Linked DNA regions of Homo sapiens: region 1 is linked to region 2. The links are contacts of gene promoters, found by promoter capture Hi-C in human tissues and cell types (Jung and others, 2019). All regions are on one chromosome and are shown on one strand. The core of a region is centred on a gene start or on the middle of the fragment in contact, and the rest is flanking DNA. Distances in the headings are between cores, read along the strand shown. Region 1 has its middle 260 kb from the start of CBLN1. Region 2 holds the start of CBLN1 (cerebellin 1 precursor).

Region 1 (7,098 bases), core at 258-2,757, 260 kb after region 2:
AATGTATAGTAGAAAACAATAAAGCTGGCACCTCAAACCTGTGATTTTACAGGCTTTATGGCTGATGCTGAGGCTAGCATAGGTGTTAAAATGTCCTACACTAAGTAAATACTGACAGGAGGGGTGTGGCAAAAATCAGCACAGTGGGGTGAGAACAGCGGAAGCTTTGGAGATGAGTATTTTCATGAGCAAGTGTGTGCAGCATTGATCTGCAGGAAATTGGCAGAGTGGAGTGGTGCAGGGGTGTGAGTCAGCAAGCGTGAAGGGGGCAGGAGAGGGTTCTAGTCAGCCCTGACACCTCTGTTACTCCTTCTCCATAACTGATCCAGGAAAATCCGACCCCGGATGTTTGTTTCCCATGGCTACAGTCCATGTGGAAAGCTGCCCAGGCTTGCAGGGGAGGCCAGAAAGGCCCTTAGGAACTTATGCTATTGTGGGGGCTCTTGCATCTGATTTTACAGGCATTTCACAGGCAGCAGGGGGCTTCATTTTTTTCCAAGTTCCCTGGTCTTGTCAGAGGCTGGCAACCTCAGCTGTGAAATGAATTTGCTTCCCCCGTTTATGCATTGGACAAATGCAAGCTCTTTACCTGAGCCCAGCCACTGAGCAGCACCCTGCAGGGAAACACAACTGTCCAGACAGCAGACAAACCCACCCCGCCGCGAAGCCAAGGGTACGTCCCAGTGAGGGCTTGGGGGAGAGGAGGCATAAGACCTGGAAATCCAGGAAACATGGAGGGCACTTGCAGATGGTCGATCTGCCAGGGGACCTTCCCGCAAGCATGGAAGTCTGTGTCCCCACGCCCAGGTTGAGTCACCGCCGGCTCCCCAGCAGCCAAGTAGGGTACCTCTCTCTGTGCAGCTGAAAGATCACTTACCTGCAAATGACTATGACTCCTCATTTGACTGAGGTTTAGCTTGTTAGTTCTAAGGAGCCTTTAAAAAAATGGAGTATTGTGGGAAAGCATGCAACTGTGTGGGCCCTTTCTGATGTAACCATGTGTCTCCGGCTATATTCATCCAATGGCATTTAAGGCTCATTAAATTTTGAATCCAGCGTCACCTGCCTTAGGCTTAAAATAGTTCTCCATGTGCCTTTTGTCTCCAAACTCCATTTTAATGGAAATTGTTTCCATTCACCTCTCCGTTCCCTTCTTCCTGCCAGCAATACCCTATCTTTAATAATCTCCAGTATGCAGATGTGAGCTCTGTGAACCTGTCATTTGGGGGAATACATTGGACCTTGACTGCTGTAAACAGTTGATGGTAAAAATGCAAGGAGAACCTTAGGATGTTCCCTTTTCCTCCTGCTTCCTCTCCGGCTGTGCAGAAGGACCCCAAATCCCGCACCCTCAATATTACTGATAGCTGGAAGCTTCATGAGACTCACCACAAGGTAGTCTCTGCTTCACATCTTGTGTCTTAACTCAGGAAACTTCCAGGGTTTCACACAGGACATGCATAAGCCCCATCTAAAGGCAGTAGCTGTTCATCATAATGAATAAATCTTAAACGGCTCTTAATAAGTGCCAGACACTGTTCTAGTGCTTATAACTAAGTGCCATGGGGGCTATCTCCTTTTTTATAGATAAAGAGACTGAAGCACAGAGAAGCTAAGTAAATGGCCCAAAGTCACACAGCAATTAAGCTGTGGGGCTTGGATTTGAACCCAGGCCATCTGAATGAAGTCCGAAGCTATATCCTGCCCACTCTGCTATATGCACGCCTACGCCCCCAGTTGGAGGTTGCCTCGTGTTAATGTCAGGCAATCATTTCCAGACCTTTGTATTTTTTCAGAGAAGCCAGAAATCTAAATTTTATGTGAAATGTCCCGATTTTTTAAAATTGGCAAATAAAATCATTTTTAACACCGTGAGAGCCAAACAAAATATGCCTATGAACAGTAACTGGTTTTTATGCCACCCAGGTGAGACCTCTGGTTTAAACTAACTCTTCAAAAAAAGCAAAGTGGCCATCAAATTCAAACACTTCCATGCCAGCGAGAAGCTTCTTTTGAAGCTGAGCAGAAAGCCCAAAGAGCAGGCAGAAATCCGTTCTGGGATCCTGGTTGGATATCCCGAAAGTCACCGTGCTTCACGGAGCAGGCAGCTTCTCCAATCGTGACTGTTAAGTTGCTTTACAGAAAGGTTCAGGGAAACTTGCTTTGCGGTTGGTTGAACCTGCACTGCGTTAAATCAACACAGCAAATGTAGCAACCAGCACAAGAAATGTCAGCTCTCATTAGCCTGCATATAAATCTGCCTCCACCAGAATCGGTATTACAGAACATTGGGGAAAATGCCAGGAAGCAGGAACATATGTTGCTCACACAAAAAGAATCTCCAACAATGGGTGTCTTCCTCCACAGTGGAGGCACCTGGAATAGGGACAGGGAGGCTTTGTTTTGCCTTGATGCCGCCCCCACCCCCACCCCGCTGTTCCTGGCCAGGAAACTGGGAAAACTCCATAGCTTCATCATCTGTGGTAGGAGGTTGTGCTAAGTGTTCGCTGACACAGCTGAACAATCATAAAATGTCATAAAGAGTAAATGACTTGATCATGCAAAACAGTAATTAGGATGTGGGGCATATTTATGCTATTTACATATTTTAACACCCTGATATTAACGATCTTCCTAATAGTACATAAGTAATCTAGCCTTTGTGCAATTTGTTCTGGCCTGCCACGAACACGTAGTCCTTAAAAGCAAGTGCCCGTTTCCCTTCTCTCTCCCGACTCTGTATCTGCATTCATGGAAGCCCACCGGGGGAAAGCCAGGCAGGAAAGCTGGCAGTGGGCAATGGAACACCTTCCCTAAAGCACATAGGTCTGGAAGTCATCGGGGGAAACTCAGGAAGGAAGGAAGTTCCCTTGGTGAGAAGTCTTCCTGCAGGCTGTCTAAAGGGGCTGAAGACAGTAAGTGCGCTGATAAATGTGTAACAACCGGCTCTCAAAATAAAAATCCTTGATATGTAGCACTTGCCAATTTTCATGAAGTAAATACACCCACTATGGCCAATGTAGTGTCCAAGCTCCTGACACAACTTCACTGAACACCCAGTTGGGAAGGGTCTCTAGCACACCATTAGTTGGGAGTCACAGCCACCACCTGATTGACCTCAGTCACTACCTTAACTCCTGTCTGCAAGTAGAGAAATGCAGCAGGGCCATGGCTATAAGAACTATGCCCAACTCCAGATATCGTCCAAGATTACCCAGGTATTTTCTTATGCAAAATAATTGTCCTGGAGAGCCGGTAAGGAATAACTGAATTCATCACCCTGGCTGCACAAATGGGAAACTGCAGCTGAGAGTCAGAAACAGTTTATGCAAGGGCGCACAGCAGTGGACCTCAGCACTGCAGCTGGAGCGCCACTCTCCTTCTCTACCCAGCGCTTTTTGTGCCAGGACCTTTTCCCTGCACGTTCCCTGCTGGTTCCTGCTCAGGCGCCACAGCTCGCTTTTGTGCCTCACAGTCTCCTTGGCCCGGCCCTGTGTATATAAGTGTGTGCACACGTGGAAGGCGGGGCGGCAGGCTAGCAGCCCTGTGTGGTGATGATGGTTGCCAGGTAACAGGAAGGCATCGTGGTGGGGAGCCTTCCTTGGCAGATATAGATAAATGGGCGCAGCAGGGAATGGAGCCTCCCTGGAGGAGGAGAACGTGGCAATGTCTGGTATGAGGGTTCTGAGTCAGAAATGGGGTATAAAACCCAAGAAGGAGGGGTTAGGGAGACATTACAACTCAAGGGGATGTTAAAGAAGGGCTGGTCCGTTTCCTCCATCAGGAGCCAAGACCCAGCACTGCTAGGAAGCAACTTGCTCAAGGTCACACCATTCAGAGTCAGGGCCACTGGAAGTGAATGGTAGGATCTAGGGCTCCCACTGAACCCCAATGAATATGATAGAAACCTCATAAGGCACAAGTGACCCTGAATGCCAAGTGCGGGAAGTTTAACAATAACCTCCATGGCTGTGCGTTTGGAAGGAGCTCTGTGGTGCTGCCCTGGTCACCACCGACCTTTCCCTCCCCTTCCCATCTCAGCCCTGGGGAAGGGAGCAGAGCCAGGGAGCAGAGAGAAAGATGAGAAGGAATGATGCTGACGTCACCGGGAAGGGGCGTGAAATTCCAAGGGGTCACTGGGCTGAACAGATGGCCGGCAGATATTGGTTTTAACTCGCACATGGCTGAGTAAATAATGTTTAAGTTTTTCTTGCCAGCCTGGGGAGCCGACAGATCGCACTGAGTGGAGGTACCTCCACCCCCCGCCCGCATCATCTGCTCTTCCTGGGGTTTTCATTTCCTACCCTGTTTGCGCTTTAGAGCATGGCTGGCTGGTCAGGAAGCCAGTGCCCTTGGAGGCAGGAGCCTGTGTGCGGAAAGAGGCAGGGAGAGGGCATAATGGGGAGGAGGCCAGCCCTTTATTGGAGTGTGTGCCTGGGCAGTACCTGTCAGGCAAAATCACCATCAAGGGTGTCTTGGGTAAATTGCCTGGGGTGGGGGGAGCTGGTCATGTTTCAATCCTTGATAACAAAGAACGTGGCATGACTACACACCCTTTGGTCTGCCTGTCAATAAGATTGTTTCTCTGTCCACAGATCAAAGAGCTGGGTCTGGTGAAACGTCAAGGTGGGACTGCGCTTTTATCCTGAAGTGGCCACTCACTGGCCTATGGCAAGTCTCTTAACTCTGCCGAGCCTCAATTTCCCCATGCATCCAATGAGGGTGTTGGCATTGTCCTGAGTATCCTCATAGGGAAGAAATGTTTGGATGAATCCTGTCTGTATGAATGGGTGATAAGAATGCAGATGTACATGGTGGACAAGCCCAAATTTGCTGGCACAGCAGAAATGGATTCACTGAATTATTTTTGAGCTCCTACTCCATCAAGCTTGGGATGCAGAAGTGAATAAGGCATGAGCACTACCCCCAAGGAGCTCCTCTGAGTGGGGAGACAAATAAGAGAATAAAACTACCAAATTTTCCCTGTGGTGGTTATCAGTGTGGCTCTGGGGTCAGACTGCTTGAGTTTACACTCCTGTCTGTCACCTAAAAGCTGTGTGACCTTGGGGTGGTAACCTTTGTGCCTCAGCTCCCTAATCTGTAAAATGGGCATCTTAATAGTCACTATCTCGCTGGGATGTGGTGATGACAGAGAAAATGCAAGCAAAGTAAGTAACATGGAGCCATGACCCACCCAGGGCAAAGACTCAACAAATGGCAGCTGCTGTTACTACCAAGTCTGTGAGAGTAGCAGCCCAGGATCCCTGGGCTCACAGGGAGAAAGACTCAGCCCAGCCTTGGGGATGAGGTCAGTGAGGGCTGTCAGAGCAGGATCTCAGTTGGGTCCTCAAGGCCAAGTTAAGGGTCGACTAGGAGGCTGGGCGTGGTGGCTCATGCCTGTCGTCCCAATTCTTGGGAAGCCAAGGTGGGCAGATTGCCTGAGTCCAGGTGTTCGAGACCAGCCTGAATGACATGGCGAAACCCCGGCTCTACAAAAAATACAAAAAATTAGCTGGGCTTGGTGGCACATGGAGTCCCATCTACTTGGGAGGTTGAGGCAGGAGGATGATGTGAGTCAGGAGAGTCAAGGCTGCAGTGAGCTGTGATCATGCCACTGTACTCTAGCCTGTGTGACAGAGCAAAACCCTGCCAAAAAAAAAAAAAAAAAAAAAGAGTTGACCAAGGAAAATGCAAATTCATTCAGCAAATAGTAAAAATGAAGAGCAAGGCAGATAAATCTCTGCTGCTTACAACTCTCATTTAGACCAAGGGCCTGCAAATTTTTCTAGAAAGGGTCAGGTAGTAAATATTTGAGGTTTGCGGCCCATATGGTCTCTGTCACAACACTCAACTCTGCTACTGTGGATGTATGAAAGCAGCCATAGACAATCCAGAAACACATGAGCATGGCTGTGCTCCAGGAAAACTGAGTTTTTGAACACTGAAATCTGAATAGCCTATCATTTCCACGTCATGAAATATGACTTTTTCTTTTTTTAACATTTAAACATAAAAAGCATTCTTACCTCTTGGGCCATACAAAAATAGGCAGTGGACTGGATTTGTTCGATTTGACCCATGGGTCATGGTTTGCAGATCCTTGTTCAAGAGTAACAATAGGTACGGAATCAATAGAAATGTGACAATTTTGGATCATGGCCATGACACAGGACAATGACGCAGTGTGTTGTGACACAATCATGAGGGTGAAGGTACCAATTTGGTTAAGGTGGCTGTGACTCTATGAGGAGGTAAAATTTGGGCTGAAATCAGAATGTCAGCTAACACTAAATACTGCAAAGTCGAAACAGAAGTAGGACTCAGTCAAAGGTGGGCTCAGAGCTTTAATGGCAGAAAGAAGGTCAGTGTGGCTGGAACGTAGGACTTGTGAAGGAAGGGGAGGAATTGACTAGAAAAGAGAAGGAAGATCCTGAAAAATGGATCATGAGAGCTTGAGTTTATAAGGACCTACATGTGATTAATTCAATATCTGTGGAACTGGCCTTGGTTTGATTGAAGGAAAATATTTGAAAAGGGATTCACTATGTAAATACCTTTTGTGATTTTTTTCAATATGTAGGGACAAAGGGAGGGAATGTATTGAAGCATGCAGAAACGCTGAATCAGTGTTGGGCATTATTATCTACCAGCCCTAATGAGTCTATTTCTTTTGCAGAGCCTGGGACCAGGCGGGGTCTCCAGCACCCCGAGGCACAGATCGTGAGTGCCTTCTTGCATGTCTTTAATGAGTTGTTCCCCCTCAGCACGGTGGACACGCTGGCTCTCTGCACCCAGAGCCCCATGTACTGATTACATTAAGCTCTGCCTTGTCTCTTAGGTGGCTTCGCCAAAATAAAGTCAAAATAGATTTGGTCAAAATGTCAGTTCCCAAGGAGGGGAGCTTGGCATTGATGCTCTTGGTGATGACACCGGTCCTGGCCCTCTTCCCTGCGTGTCCCCCTCCCTGACCTTGCTGCTTTGGCAGGATGCCTGAGAAAGAATTTTTGTAATAAAAACGTTTGTCAAAAAGGTTTTCTGCATATCCCTGGGTTAAGGAAGGGAACTAGTGAGACCATGCTTGGGCAGTTGTGCCAGATG
Region 2 (7,160 bases), core at 2,372-4,871:
AATTCCAACAGAATATTACCAAAGAAATCTTTTAGAATGGACTGTTAAAATTATTTATTTGTATTTATCTGGCTCTACTATTTGTGGTACATTTCCACTTCAAAGCTAAACCTCAAATAACATCATAGTGAGTGGTTGACTTCATGTTTAACTGAGATCTTGAAGACTGAAAAAGACCACGACAAACACACATCTATTTTCTTGGCTACTGCATCCGTGTTCATCACCATTCTGATAGTCTGCAATGTATTGCAGCTCACCCTTTGGGAAGGACTAAAGTAGACATCTGTTTGTTCTGCTTACTCAGCATTCCTACCCTAATTTTCCTTTGGAGAACCCCTTTATTCTAGACCACGTGAAGCTAATGCCAAACCCCATTCCAGGGGATGCACCTGAATCCAACCTCCATCATCTAAACAGTGCCTTCTCCACGTTCAGAGAAGAGCAAGTGACTCAAACTGCCCTCATAAGAACAGACCTGGGACTTCTGCTGCAAATATTGAAGAGTAAGTACTCTTTTTTCTTGCTAGGACTAAGCTGGTAGTACCTTCTATGAGGCTATCATATGGAAACAACTTGTCTGAAAATGAAGCCACAACTAGAAAACAGATCCTGGTAACCCGGATTGATGGATCCAGCCCTACCTTAAATGGCAAGACCTAACCCGAGGCTTTTTGCATCAACCAATAAAGTCCTTAAGCCAGTTTGAGTTGGTTTTGTCACTTGCAGCTAAAAGAATTCTGACTCTAACAATGTGACAATAGCAAAAATAAACATAACTGCTTTTGAGGTTTCTAATGGATTTTCCTCCCTATATACATGATTTCATTTAATCCTCACAATTCAGGAAAGCACATATCTATTAACATTAAATTAATATTCATTATTTTGAACACATGCTATGTGGATAAGGGATGAGGAAAGCCAAGGAAGTAATCAACGTGAAATCTCACTTATATGGGAGGGAAGTGGAGGTTACATATCTCAGGGCACTTAACAGATATCATCAAATGAAAGAATAAACAGTGTGTGGGAGAGGCAGTAGGTGATTCTTCATCAATTCCTGGATGAAAAATTAGGAGATAATGAACTCCGAACAGGCAGCCTAATGAGAATGGCTCAAGCAACAGGACATAGAGAGGGAGTTAGGTTAGACATGGGGTTCTTGGGAATTTTCACCTCGTGGGGGGGCGGGGGGGTCGTGCAGCTGTTGTCAGTGGGAAAGGGAAAAAGGAAAAGGCTGAGTTTGGAAGGCAGGGAGGGAGGAGACAATGTGAGTCAGTGAAAAAGGGCCCTTAGAATGACAAGTCTGGACCAGAGAGAGGCTAAGACTGAAAATACAAGTTGGGTAACCACTGGCATACAGATGGCAGTTCAGGCTTGGGCACTGCCCACCAGAGCCTCAGCATGAAGAGAAGAGGGGGAGGCTGGCCACCACCTCCCTCTAGGTAATCGTCATCCTGATGCTGAGCTCCTGAAAACAGGCTCTTTCACTCGCCCCATCTCTTGCTCTTGATTGCAACCCGGCATTCAGGAGGCACCCTGTAATATCTGTGGAGTGACCGACAACACAGCGCCAGGGCACTGAGAAGATCCCAGGGCGCCAGGGACTGGTTCTACAAGGGTGCCCCTCCCGGTCCCCTCCAGCGCGCCGCCAGAGCTGCCAGTCTTGGCTGCTACACGGGAGGCAGCCTCATTATGCAGCTCTCACCTCTTAAATTAGTTCATGCTCTCACATTAGGTGTAATCACAGCTTGCAACGCTTTCTGGGGATGTCTCAGAAAGATCTGAGTTGAAAAAATATTTTTGTGTCATTTTAATTTAAAGTAAAATTGCTGCTTCTTCCCCGCCCCTTTCTTTCCTCCTGGCCCACCCAGCGACCCTGGCCGGCCGTGCTCAACGGGGGCGGGGGTCGGAGGTGAGATTTCCTCCACATAATTCCTTAAACAGCTATCAACTAAGTCTCAAAGAAAAAAAAAAGAGATCTAGAAGCAGAGACGTGGCTGCTGGCGATCCCAAAGCTGGTGTTCGCTCTTGGGGGAGAGCGTACCCTGGGGGAGGCCGGGAGGCCGGGCCAGAGGCTAGCCCAGAGGCAGAGGGCAGGAGCGCTCAGCCGGCGCCCCGCGTCTCTCCAGCTCCCGACGCTGCGCTGGCTCCGCTGAGCACGCCAGGATCAAGGTCGCCTGGTGGGGACCGGAGCGCCAGGAGCCTGTGGGAAGCGTTCCAGCCGGCCTCTGACTGGGATCCGGCGCCGCGTTTCTGCTTTGGACTTGACTGACAGGTCCCCCCGCCCTCCCGCCGCCCTACTACCAGCCTGGGTTCATCCTTCAGGGCTACGTCTACCGCACCCGGGCTGGAAAGCCTGGAGCGCGCCCTTCCTCTCCTCATCTTCTCAGCTCTCCTTTCTCCCTGCCACTTGGCAAAGCTGCATTTTGACTTTCACGTTTTGGACTACGTGTGTGTAGTTCCAAGTCCATGCGTGGCACGAAAATCCACTTAGGGTAAAAATTATTCTCGAAAAATCGCCCATCTCAGGATCTGGTGTCTACACTCAAGGCTAGGAGGTGCAGGTACGGGTGCGTAAAGCATGCCGTAAGGGTGCACAGTAAATAAAAAGTACGGATGCAAAATGTAAATTTTAAGTGCAAAACAGAAAAGCAGTACTCGTTGCCGCCCCGCACGCTGGGTTTTAAGGGGCACGAAGGTGGGCCTCGGCTGCTTTTGCTCAGCCCCGCGTCCTCAGCGCCCGGCCCAGTACCCGGTACTCCGTAGGGGTTCAATGATCTCCCCTGAATAAGTGAACGAATTAACAAATGAATGAATGACCGCTCGATCCGACCTCCGCGGCCGGCAGAGCAGTCGCTGGAGAGGCGGGAGAGAGCGAGAGGCCAAGCTCCACCATCGCGGCCGCCGGCTGGGGCAGAGGGACACGGAGACACTCGGCGCCCCGGCTCCGCACCGAGTCCCCGCGGTGAGTGCCCGCCCAGCAGCTCCCGGGCACCACGTGCGCCCGCCAGAGCCGCGCAGGCCCCGCCCCGCCGCGCGCGCACGCGCCCTGCACCCCGGCCGCCGGGACCCTGAGCCAGGCTCGCCCAGCGCGCCGGCTGCCCTCGCGCCCGCGCCCGCTGGGGGGCGCTCCCCTCCCAACGGGCGCGCCCACAGGCGGGCAGGCGACTCGCAGCCTCCAGCGATTCCACTCCCGACCCCGGGGCGCGCCGCCTCCTACCTGAGGGCCGACGAGTGGGGGCGGGCAGGAGGGCCGAGGGAGGCGGAACAGGATCGAGGCGCGAGGCGGGAGTCGAGAAAGCGAGCGGCCGAGGCGACTCTCAGTGCGCGGACGCGGGCGCGCGCCCGCGCTCCCTTCGTCGACTCACGGCGAGAGCCCAACCCTGCTGCCGCGCGCCACCCGCCTCGCCGCGCCTAATAACAACGGCGCCCGGGGTCAGGTGGCCGAGCGCGGACAGCGCCGCCATTGGCTCGGTGGGGAGCGCGGCGCGTCAGGATTGGCTGGGGGGCGTGGCCTCGGCCGGGGCGGGGGCAGGGCCTCGGAGGGAGGCGGGCCGGGAGGCGGCGGGGGCGGGGCCAGGCCGAGGTCCGCGCCTTTGTGCCCGGCGCGCGCTCTCCGCCCGCTCCGGCTGCAGCGCCGGCTGCATCAATAATTCAGAGCGGCGGCGGCGGCGGCAGCGGCGGGTGCGGGCAGGAGGCGGCGGCAGCAGCGGGACCGAGCAGCAGCGGCTATGCATCCAAGTGCGGCTGGGCAGCCGCGGCACCCCTGAGGCCCGGGAGGGGCTCCGGGAACACAGCGCGGAGGGGACGCTAGTCGCGGAGGGGACGCTAGTCCCGGAGTGCGAGGAAGAGGTGTAGTGTCCAGAGCGGCGGCGGCGGAGCTGCGCACGGAGCTGAGGAGGGGGCTTCGGAGCGGGACTGGGACGGGGGGGGCGGCTGGCGCGAGCAGCCCTGGGGGTGGGGGGCGGGGTGGGCGCCGGCGGCGCGATGCTGGGCGTCCTGGAGCTGCTGCTGCTGGGGGCTGCGTGGCTGGCGGGCCCGGCCCGCGGGCAGAATGAGACGGAGCCCATCGTGCTGGAGGGCAAGTGCCTGGTGGTGTGCGACTCCAACCCCACGTCCGACCCCACGGGCACTGCCCTGGGCATCTCTGTGCGCTCTGGCAGCGCCAAGGTGGCTTTCTCTGCCATCAGGAGCACCAACCACGAGCCGTCCGAGATGAGTAATCGCACCATGATCATCTACTTCGACCAGGTGAGTGTTCCTTCCTCCCGCGGCGTGCAGATTGGGCTGGTGAAGGAGGGATGGATGGAAGACCGATGCCCGGTCCTCTCCAAGGGCTCTGCGGAGGCGCGGGGACGACAGTCCGGGACCGATTCCTGCCCACTCCCCTTCGTTCCCGTCTCGTTATAGGTACTAGTGAACATTGGGAACAACTTTGATTCAGAACGCAGCACTTTCATCGCCCCGCGCAAAGGGATCTACAGTTTTAACTTCCACGTGGTAAAAGTCTACAACAGACAAACCATACAGGTCAGCCGACGCCTCGTGCCGGGCCCTGGCCCCGTAGGGGGGTTACTGGCCTCAGGGGTGCTCGGGCTGTCCGGAGGTGGTAGGCAGAAGTGGCGGCTGCATGTACTTCGGGCTGCTTGGAGGGACAGATAGCGGGGCCTCTCAGTTCTGTGGCTTCAACTGTCCTCTGCTTTCCCTGTCTCTGGCTCTTGGGATCCAGCCCCATCCCCCGAGAGACAGAATTTTCTGCTTCTGCCTTCCGGGCCTCTCCGAAGGGTTCCCTGGATTTCAGGGACTTCCTTGTAACGGCTGTTGTTAGCGCCCCAGACAGCTGCCGCTTGGGAAGCCTTCCCGGACTCCCCAGGAAGCACCGCGACAGTACACCCTACCCCTTGCCCCGGCTCAGAAGCCTGCGATGCGGCTTGCGTGCTTGTCTTCAGCACCACGGACGGGGCCCCCGTTTTCTCCCACTTGTCCCCAATCCCCACCCCGTGCGGACTGTGGGTTTTTGAGCTAGCAGCATTTAGCCCCGGAGGGTGAGGGGTAGAGAGAGGAGGGAGGGAGGGGGCGTAGTGCTACTCTCTCCCGGCTCCAGCCGTGTCCCAGCAATCACTCGCCGGCTCTCCGGGTCCCCAAAGATGTCCAGGTTTCCCTTGGGCGCCGAGAGAGGTGGGACGCACAGCTGGGGAGAGGGCGCGAGGCCCTTGGCTGACGGTGCCACCACAGGGGCAAAACCAGGCGGTGGCGGGCGCGGCTGGATGGGGGAGGGAATTGAGCCCGTGGTTTGGGGAGGAAATACATTGTGCCGCTCGGTGCGAGACTTCTAATCACAAATCACAGTGGCTTCTCCACTGTGTCCTGGCAGCTGGGTCCAGGAGGGATCAGGGGCTTTTTGTTTGTTCGTTTTTGTTTTTCCGGTAGCGCCAGAAGGAGCCTGAGTTGCTGGGTTTTTTTTGTTTGTTGTTTGTTTTTTGAGGCTGAGGGGAAACGGGAGAGAGGTCAAAGGTCTCAGGGCGCTAGAGCCACCTCATGGGTTTATTAAATTGGATCACAGAGCACAGTCGAGATTCGCTTGGCGCGCTCATTTGAGAAACTGGAATAAGAGCAACTCCCGTTTTGGGGACAGGCCCTTCCTGTCACCCAGATGTGTGGTCTTTCGCCCCACTGGAGCCTCAGCAGTAAGCTGCAAAGCCCCTTTTCCTCCATTCGCCCCCCCCACCCCCCACCTCTCCGTGCTTCCAGGCCTTACAGGCTGTTAGCCAAGCAAGGAGGAGGTTCGCTCCACCGCGGCTTCGGTGCCTGCCTAGGTTGCGCCTCTGAAGCGGGCCTTTCTCTTTCTCAGGTGAGCCTCATGCTAAACGGGTGGCCGGTGATTTCAGCCTTCGCTGGTGACCAGGACGTGACCCGGGAGGCCGCCAGCAACGGAGTCCTAATCCAAATGGAGAAAGGCGACCGAGCATACCTCAAGCTGGAGCGGGGAAACTTGATGGGGGGCTGGAAGTACTCGACCTTCTCCGGATTCCTGGTGTTTCCTCTCTGACTGGCTCGTAGCCGGAAGGGAGGCAGGGAGAGGGCGAAGGCAGGAAGGGGAGTGAGAAAGAGGCTGAAATTAAGAGGGCGAGAAAGCAGCACGACTTGAAACTTCCTACATGTTCTCTAACTGTATCTGGGTAAAAAGGTGCGCGCCAGCTGTGGGACAACTTTGTCCATTTCCTTATTAGGAGAAATAAATTTCGCTTAGCTCTGCGCACTCCCATTTCCAAAAATAAACTCGCCTCCCCCATTCCAGTTGCAGTAATCAAGAAAGAGACTGCCTTGTCATTGTTTCTTATCCCCCAACTTCATGTTCCCTGCAATTTATTTAAAGAAACTTTGTATTTCACTACATAATCTGAAATCTTTCTCCCTAGCCCCCTCTGAATCCTTCTGCCTACTGAAATCTGATATATTACACACCCCCAACCTTTTTTTTTTCAGTTTGGAAAGGGGTAAAGTTTTGTTGTTGTTGTTGTTTTGTTTTGGATGGGGAAGGTAGTTTTAATTTGGCAAGTGTTGCTCTTCTTAAAACACTGCTCAAATTAATTAGCTGAAGATACTTAGTATCCTCGGCTGCTTGTTAGCAGAGAAAGGACTCACCTTAGTGGTGACTGGTTTAAAAAATATAAATATATATCATTTGTATACGAAGAACTCTTCCCAGTGGAAACTGGCTGTGTTTCCGTATTTCTATGTTCTATTCGGAGTGATCGTGAAATCTAAGGCTGCTTGATGTTCTGATGCTTGTCAATGCCGTCGTGCTCTGTGACTCCACGAAACGCCAAGGAGCTTCTTCCGGACGCCTCCTCTTCCTCTGTAACATACGTGTGAATAGTCAAGGTTTAATTTTGCTTTAATCTAATAAAGTCGAAGTGGGACTTTTATTTTTCTGAAACAGCTTTCTAAAATCCGCATCTTCCCCAGCTGCGAGGTTGGGGGTCTGGGGTGCCAAAGGGCGAGGTTCCGAAAGGCAGGAGACTTGGGGGAACGCAACCATAGAAAGGCCTGGGCGCGAGGGCTTCCTTGCAAAGCCGGCCTTGCGCTCCTTCCTGCGCCAGGCCGGGGACCAGCACTGCATTCGCCTGTGTTCACAGCTTTGGCGGAAACGT

Evidence for each region. The method cuts DNA at HindIII sites, captures the fragments that hold promoters and counts their contacts. A contact is called where the count stands out against the background at its distance.
Region 1: a contact is called between a fragment that was not itself captured here and the fragment with the promoter of CBLN1 in region 2, in 2 of the 25 tissues and cell types used here (dorsolateral prefrontal cortex and lymphoblastoid cells).

Annotation. Positions count from the first base shown.
Region 1 is chr16:49,016,467-49,023,564 of GRCh38, reverse strand. No RefSeq gene overlaps it. Among named protein-coding and RNA genes, the nearest start is that of CBLN1, 260 kb to the left of the region's middle. The HindIII fragment of the contact is 3,880 bases long and covers 1-3,447 here.
Region 2 is chr16:49,278,299-49,285,458 of GRCh38, reverse strand. CBLN1 (cerebellin 1 precursor) reads left to right here and starts at 3,621. Exons shown (of 3, transcript NM_004352.4): 1 at 3,621-4,257; 2 at 4,417-4,536; 3 at 5,858-7,160. The coding sequence starts at 3,994. The coding sequence ends at 6,055. SYNAGE (synapse stability regulating cerebellar lncRNA) reads right to left here and starts at 3,397. Exons shown (of 4, transcript XR_933530.4): 1 at 3,227-3,397. RefSeq lists silencers at 2,968-3,067, 3,438-3,547 and enhancers at 3,900-4,517, 6,595-7,119, 7,120-7,160. The HindIII fragment of the contact is 18,550 bases long and covers 1-7,160 here.